Regions from separate parts of the Homo sapiens genome. Here region 2 is linked to region 1. Evidence: promoter capture Hi-C in 16 types of primary human blood cells and fetal thymus (Javierre and others, 2016). All regions are on one chromosome and are shown on one strand. The core of a region is centred on a gene start or on the middle of the fragment in contact, and the rest is flanking DNA. Distances in the headings are between cores, read along the strand shown. Region 1 holds the start of SIK3 (SIK family kinase 3). Region 2 overlaps SIK3 (SIK family kinase 3).

Region 1 (3,266 bases), core at 263-2,762:
ACTTCATTCTTATCTTTAGTTGCTAATAAGGGAGCCAATTAGTGTTAATTGTGTTGGCAGTTTGGAACAGCTACCAGGGAATAGATCCAAGACCATTGTGGGATGACCCCTCTGTCCCATCTTAAGTCCCAGCCATTACTCATGGTTGGATAGGGAATTGGAGCACCAGGAGGTGTTCTTTGGTCAGCGAGTAAACACGAGTTATCCTTCCACACATTTACAGTGCCCTGGGTGTCAGTTTTTAATACTGTGCATGCAGTGACCTCACAATACAGTTCTACCATTGAGAGAGACATAGATATGGATGGATCAGGACTAGTCCAAAGGAATACATTTTAACATTGGAATATTCACAATCTTCCCTCCTTTCCACCCAGCCTGCCAAAGACTATTTTGTTGACAGTCTGATTTCCTACCTGCAACCCTCACCTAAAGCAGCTAAGTTAATCTATTTAATAAAGGGAAGGGGAGAGAGGAGGAGGAAGCCTGGGAGCTATGAAGGATGCAGGTAATAGGCAAGGGAAGAAAAAGAGATATGAAATTGCTGGAGTTATTAACTTGATGACCCTCAATGTCCTCGGAGAGTCACTAGGAAGGATGGAATTTTTATTATTTACTTATTTATTTTGCTTAACCGACTGTTGTTTAAACACGACGTGGTTCATTGGACAATGCGCACCACTGCTTCATCAGGGTTATACAAGCAACAGAAATAGTATGTAGGCACTCTGACAGACATCCCTGTAGAATTGTTCAGAGATGGGGGTGGTAGGAAGGAAAATGACGTACCTTCTTTGGCTGTCACCCACCCAATGACTGGAATGCCTGTTTGGACTGGCTTGTCCGCCCTTGAACACGCAAATCCTAGTTTCCCCATTCTCCTATATTCGGTGACAATTAGGTTGACTGTGCAGGGTGAGCTGGATTTTGTAAGAGGAAGGAATTTTACCGAAGAATTCCCCTGCGTTGTTACCAACTTGGTTACAGTTGCTTCAAGAGTGTAGCTATTCCTGCATTTGTGGCCTCAAGGGCTAAAGTGGGACAACGCTGGTATTTTTGGTGATGAGGAAACACTTTTTTTTTGTTAAGGGAGGTTGGGTGATCGTTGAACTGGGACAGAGGTCACAGCAGAGGTCACATTGGCGATTCGAGCGGCGGTGGGGGGTTGGCTTTGGGTCGGGCATCCTGCGCCCCCCACTCGGGAAAGGTGGCGGAGACTTCGAGGTTGGGGGCCCATCGAAGGTTCCCACCGCCAGCTCCCGGAGGGGGGCACCCGGGAGCCAGCGCCTCAGGAACCGGGGCCCACGCGGGAAGGTCGAGCCCGCCGGTGAGGTCACGGTTGCCATGGCTCCGGGCAGTGACGCGCGTCGGCACGTGACCCGCGGTTGCCATGGAGCCGGGCGCCGGTCGGCGAAAGCGCCCCGCCTCCCCGAGTGACGTCCGCGGCCCCCCCTTTCCCGCCCCCCCTTGCCCCCTCCCCCGAGCCGGCTCCCCGCGGCCCCGGAGGTTTCACTGCACAACAAGATGGCGGCGGCGGCGGCGAGCGGAGCTGGCGGGGCTGCCGGGGCCGGGACTGGGGGAGCCGGGCCCGCGGGCCGCCTGCTGCCTCCGCCCGCGCCGGGGTCCCCAGCCGCCCCCGCTGCCGTGTCCCCTGCGGCCGGCCAGCCGCGTCCCCCAGCCCCGGCCTCCCGCGGACCCATGCCCGCCCGTATCGGCTACTACGAGATCGACCGCACCATCGGCAAGGGCAACTTCGCGGTGGTCAAGCGGGCCACGCACCTCGTCACCAAGGCCAAGGTACCGGCGCAGGGGCCAGGCGGCAGTCGGAGCGTGGCGGGGCCGGGAGAGGTCCGCGCCCCCCAGCCGGGGGGTCGGGGCGGCGAGCGCGGCGCGTGGTGGGAGCGTTGGGGGCCGGGAGGCGGGAGGGAGCCAGCCGCGGCGGGGCGGGCGCGGAGCTAGGGACACCTGGGACTCGAGACGGCGGAACTCCAAGCAGGGGGCCGAGGGCACAGAGCACCGGCGCCCAGGAGCCGGGCGCGGGGAGGGGTCCTCGGGGCTGAGGGCAGGCGGGTAAAGGGGATGATTGGAAAGAAGGGGTCGGAACTCCCCGAGGGCCGGGAGACTGTAAGCCCAGAAGACTCTGGAACCAGCAGCTAGGGAATCATAAGGGAATGAGGGCAGGGGCATATGAAATGTGGACCCGGAGGATGGGGAAAAACAAGGGTGAAGTGGCAGACCCGGGCTTGTAAGGGGACCCAGGACGGCTGGGGCACGGACTGGGAATGTGCACGTCTGCAGGGCGCTGGGAGGTCCCAGGATCCTGGTGCCTTAAGACAGAGACAGGAATCCGCATTTGATCATCTAAGACTGATAGATGGTGCGAAGGGGATCCCGAGGAGACACGATTAGTGGAGGAGGCAATGAGGAAAATGGGGAAATAAGGGGGAAATTGCTTTGCTTGTCCACAGGAAGGGGCCCAGGGAATGGGGGAGTGAGGTGGGGGTGGGGGCTGTCCCAGGTTTATGATGGCACTAGGTAGTCAGGGGTTAAACAATTTGGGAGAGCTGATTGCTGGTTATTTTTAGTTGTTGGAGGGTCGGGAATTGTGGGCTTTGTAGAACCCAGGGTGGGCTTTTACTGGTTGGGGGGAAGCTTGTGATTGAAGAACCCAGACACCGGGAGATTACACTCATCGAGCCCTTAGTTCTCAAAGGGATTTGAGGCGCTATAGGAGTGAAATTGGCCAAGGTCAATTAGGAAGCTATATATGTATGCATGTAAAATTCTTTGAGGAAATATGGTAGCACTTTCATGTAGCCTTCGTTGGGAGGACTGGAATCTAAGACATCAGGAGGAATCTTTTGGTTTTGGTGGAACCCGCAAAGCCCATTTTTACTCTAAAATTTTCTTTGCTCAATATCTTACTTGAATGAATACTTTTAATGTAGTCATTCATTATGTTTAGAACTGCAGCTTGTGTTTTCCCTCAGCCTGAGGAATGAAGAACCCTTACAGCTGCTGCCGCCTCCTACCAAAGCCACATCAATTCCCCTCACCTCCTCAGCCTAGCCTCTGGTTGTCATGACCTACCTTGTTTTTGCTTTTTTGGCAGTGGCTTGTTTTCTGAAGCCAGTGACTTATCTAGGCCTTCTCTCCTGATCACTTGCAACCTGAAGTTCCTTCCCCACCATCTTTCTGCCTGAGGCTACAAGGGGCCCTTCTTACCAGGGTGTCAGGGTGGGTGGCTGTGGCGAATTGATTGGTCA
Region 2 (3,551 bases), core at 930-3,429, 69 kb after region 1:
TGACCAACATGGTGAAACCCCGTCTCTACTAAATATACAAAAAAAAAAAAAAAAAAAAAAAAAAATTAGCCGGGTGTGGTGGTACATGCCAGTAATCCCAGCTACTTGGGAGGGTGAGGCAGAGAATCCCTTGAACCTGTGCAGTGGAGGTTGCAGTGAGCCAAGATCGCGCCATTGCACTCCAGCCTGGGAAACAAGAGCAAAACTCTGTCTCAAATAAATAAATAAAATAAAAATAAAATAAAATAAAATAAAATGCTGTATTCATTGGCCATTGCCCAACTGATTTTTGATAAAGATGCAGAAGCAATTCAGTGCAGGAAGGATAGCCTTTTAAATAAATGGTGCTGGAGCAACTGGACAGCTATAAGACAAAAAAAAAAAAAGGAAAAAAGGAAAAATCTGACCTAAACTTCACACCTTATAAAAAAATTAACTGAGAGTGGATCATGGACTTAAATGTAAAACATAAAACTAAAAAAAATTTTAGAAAATAACAGGAGAAAATGTTTAGGATATAGAGCTAGGCAAAGAGTTCTGAGACTTGACACCAAAAGTATGATCTAGAAAAGGAAAAATTGGTAAGTTGGACTTCATAAGAACTAAAACATTTTGGTCTGCTAAAGACCATGTTAAAAGGCTGAAAAGGCAAACTACAGACTGGGAGAAAATATTTTTGAACCACATATCCAATAAAGACTACTGTCTAGAATATATAAATAACTCCAAACTCAGTATTAAAAAACCCCAAGTAATCCAATTAGAAAACAGCAAAAGATGTTAAGGAACATTTCACTGAAGAGGATATACAGATGGCATGTAACCCCATGAAGAGATGTTCAACATCATTAGCCGTTAGGGAACTGCAAATTAAAACCACAGTGAGATATCTCAAAATAGAGTTTAATTTTTAAAAAGCCTGGGTGCACTGGCACACACCTGTAATCCTAGTACTTTGCGAGGTTGAGGTGGGAGGATCACCTGAGCCTGGAAAGTCGAGGCTGCAGTGAGCTGTAGTCCTGCCACTGCACACCAGCCTGGGCAACGGGAATGAGACTGTGTCTTAAAACAAATTGTTTTAAAGGAAAAAATAATATCATTAAATTCAGTAAATGCAGGAAAAAAGGCTAAAGCAGAAAAAAACCACATGTGATCTCAATAACTGTATATAACTTCCAGTAACATTTTGTTGTATTTTATACATTTTTTTGCCCTCTGCATTTTTATATTATATAGTTAACTGAATATGCAGTTGTGTCTTGCTTTTTTCACAATACTCAATATCATGAGTATTTTTATCACTTAAAATTATCCATGAATATAGATTTTAAATGGCTCATAATCTTTGTTGTATGGATGTACAGTAATTTATTTAACCATTCCTTTCATATGTTTAAAGTAGTTCCATTTTGTTGCTATTGCAAATAATGCTGTGAGAAACATTTTTGTATGTAAACTTCTGTCAGGATTTCTGATTCCTTCCTTACAATACATTCTTAGAGGTAGAATTACTGTGTCACGACGTGGGCATCTTAGAGGCCTTTGTTAACTATACATTGCCAAAATACTTTGCAGAAATATAGTTTCGATTTATGCCCCTTTTATATTCTTACATTTCTCCTTTCTCTAGGAAAATAAATGTTCATGTTACTCACCTTCACTCAAGGTTTCCAAACACTTTTTCTTGGCTCTCCTCCTACAACTCTGTTCTCAGCTTTCCAAAATTGTTTCTCTTTACTCCTTAGATATCTGGGTTTCCTTAGGTTCTGTGCTCTCCCTCTTCTCTCTATGTATATTCTTCTTTGAGCTAATCAGAACCAGCCCCTTGCCTTCAACTACAGTTTACATCATAATGACTCCTAAATCCCATATCTCTGCTGAGTTTTGGGAACCAGTTCTAACACCATACTAGATATTTTTACCTTATGCTACATAGCCATCACAAATGTAACTCCCTTATCCAAAACTGAACTCATTATCCAACCACACTAACTTCATCTCCACTGATGGCAGTATGACCCATCCAGTGGTAGAAGCCAGAAGTTTGGGAGTTAGCCTAGATTTCTCCTTGAATTTTGTGTACCACTGGTCAATCATTACATTTTAAGATTCTGCTTCCAAAATAGCTCTCTAATTTGTTACCTCCCCTTTCCACTGCCTTAATTTAGGCCCTCATATTTTTTGTACTGCTGCATTGGTGTCTTAACTGATACGCCCATTTCTGACCTAGTTCCATCCCTCAGTTTCATCCTTCACATTAAAACCATTTTGTCTTTTAATTTTTAATTTTATTTTTGAGACAGGGTCTGGCTCTGTTGCTCAGGCTAGAGTGCAGTGGTGCAATCTTGGCTCACTGCAGCCTCTGCCTCCTGGGTTCAATTCATCCTTCCACCTCAGCCTCCTAAGTAGCTGGGACTATAGGTGCTTGCCACCATGCCCAGCTAATTTTTTGTAGATCCAGGGTTTCACCATGTTGCCCAGGCTAGTCTCAAACTCCTGAGCTCAAGTGATCCACCTGCATCTGCCTTCCAAAGTGCTGGGATAGGCTGGGCACAGTGGGTCACACCTGTAATCCCAGCACTTTGGGAGACCGAGGTTGGCGGATCACTTGAGGTCAAGAGTTCGAGACCAGCCTGGCCAGCATGGTGAAACCTTGTCTCCACTAAAAATACCAAAATTAGCCGGGCGTAGTGGCGGGTGCCTGTAATTTCAGCTACTCGGGAGGCTGAGGCGGGAAAATCACTTGAACCCAGGAGGTGGAAGTTGCAGAGAGCCGAGATCACACCACTGTGACAAAGCAAGATTCAATCTCAAAAACAAAATATACAAAATGCTGGGATTACAGGTATGAGCCACCATGCCTGGCCCAGTTTGTCATTTTAATGCATGCATGTCAGCATGTTTCTCACCGTCACTGTCTTCTGTCTCCTGTAAAATAAAGCCTGTTCTCTGTAGCATGGCACCCATGAGCCTGGTCTTGATTTCCTTCCTCCAGGCTACTTTCATGATTTATCCCTGGCCATGCCTGATATGGCTCCCAGTCATGCTGAGCTAGTTTCCTCAACATATTAGAATTGTTTTTCAGGCCTTTATGCTTTTGCTCATGTTTTTTTTTTCCTTGACATGCTTCTTTCTTCTATCCATTTGCCAGATTTCTTTCACATCCTAAGATTCAGGTAACATCATAACCTCCTATGGAAAGCAAGCCCTCTATAGGAATTGTTAAGGGCTTCCTTGTCTGTGTTCCCACTGTGCCATGTACCTACTTCTTTCTGCCACCTCCTACATTGGTGTACTTTTGTTGTTGTTGTTAAGCTGTCCCTATTATACTAGATTGTAACACATGCTTTCTACCGCCTAGAGCAGGAACTGTGTACTCTTAATTGTTTCCTGAGGGCTTGAGATTAGCATCTGGCATGTAGTAGGTGTTTAATAAATATTTCTTGAGTAGATGAAGATATGAGTGAATGAATGAAGGGTTTCATGCTGAAAAATGAAAAAAGGGTTTAACTTTAAGAAAAAAGTCACAGATTTTGGAGTCATAGGAATTG

Evidence for each region. The method cuts DNA at HindIII sites, captures the fragments that hold promoters and counts their contacts. A CHiCAGO score of 5 or more calls a contact.
Region 2: a contact is called between a fragment that was not itself captured here and the fragment with the promoter of SIK3 in region 1, in 9 of 17 cell types (activated CD4 T cells, total CD8 T cells, naive CD8 T cells and 6 more). The highest score is 9.8, in activated CD4 T cells.

Annotation. Positions count from the first base shown.
Region 1 is chr11:117,096,674-117,099,939 of GRCh38, reverse strand. SIK3 (SIK family kinase 3) reads left to right here and starts at 1,512. Exons shown (of 25, transcript NM_001366686.3): 1 at 1,512-1,797. The coding sequence starts at 1,525. RefSeq lists silencers at 1,324-1,503, 1,584-1,633 and an enhancer at 2,955-3,004. The HindIII fragment of the contact is 6,059 bases long and covers 1-2,654 here.
Region 2 is chr11:117,028,202-117,031,752 of GRCh38, reverse strand. The region is part of intron 1 of SIK3 (SIK family kinase 3); the gene reads left to right. Among named protein-coding and RNA genes, the nearest start is that of SIK3, 68 kb to the left of the region's middle. The HindIII fragment of the contact is 9,274 bases long and covers 1-3,551 here.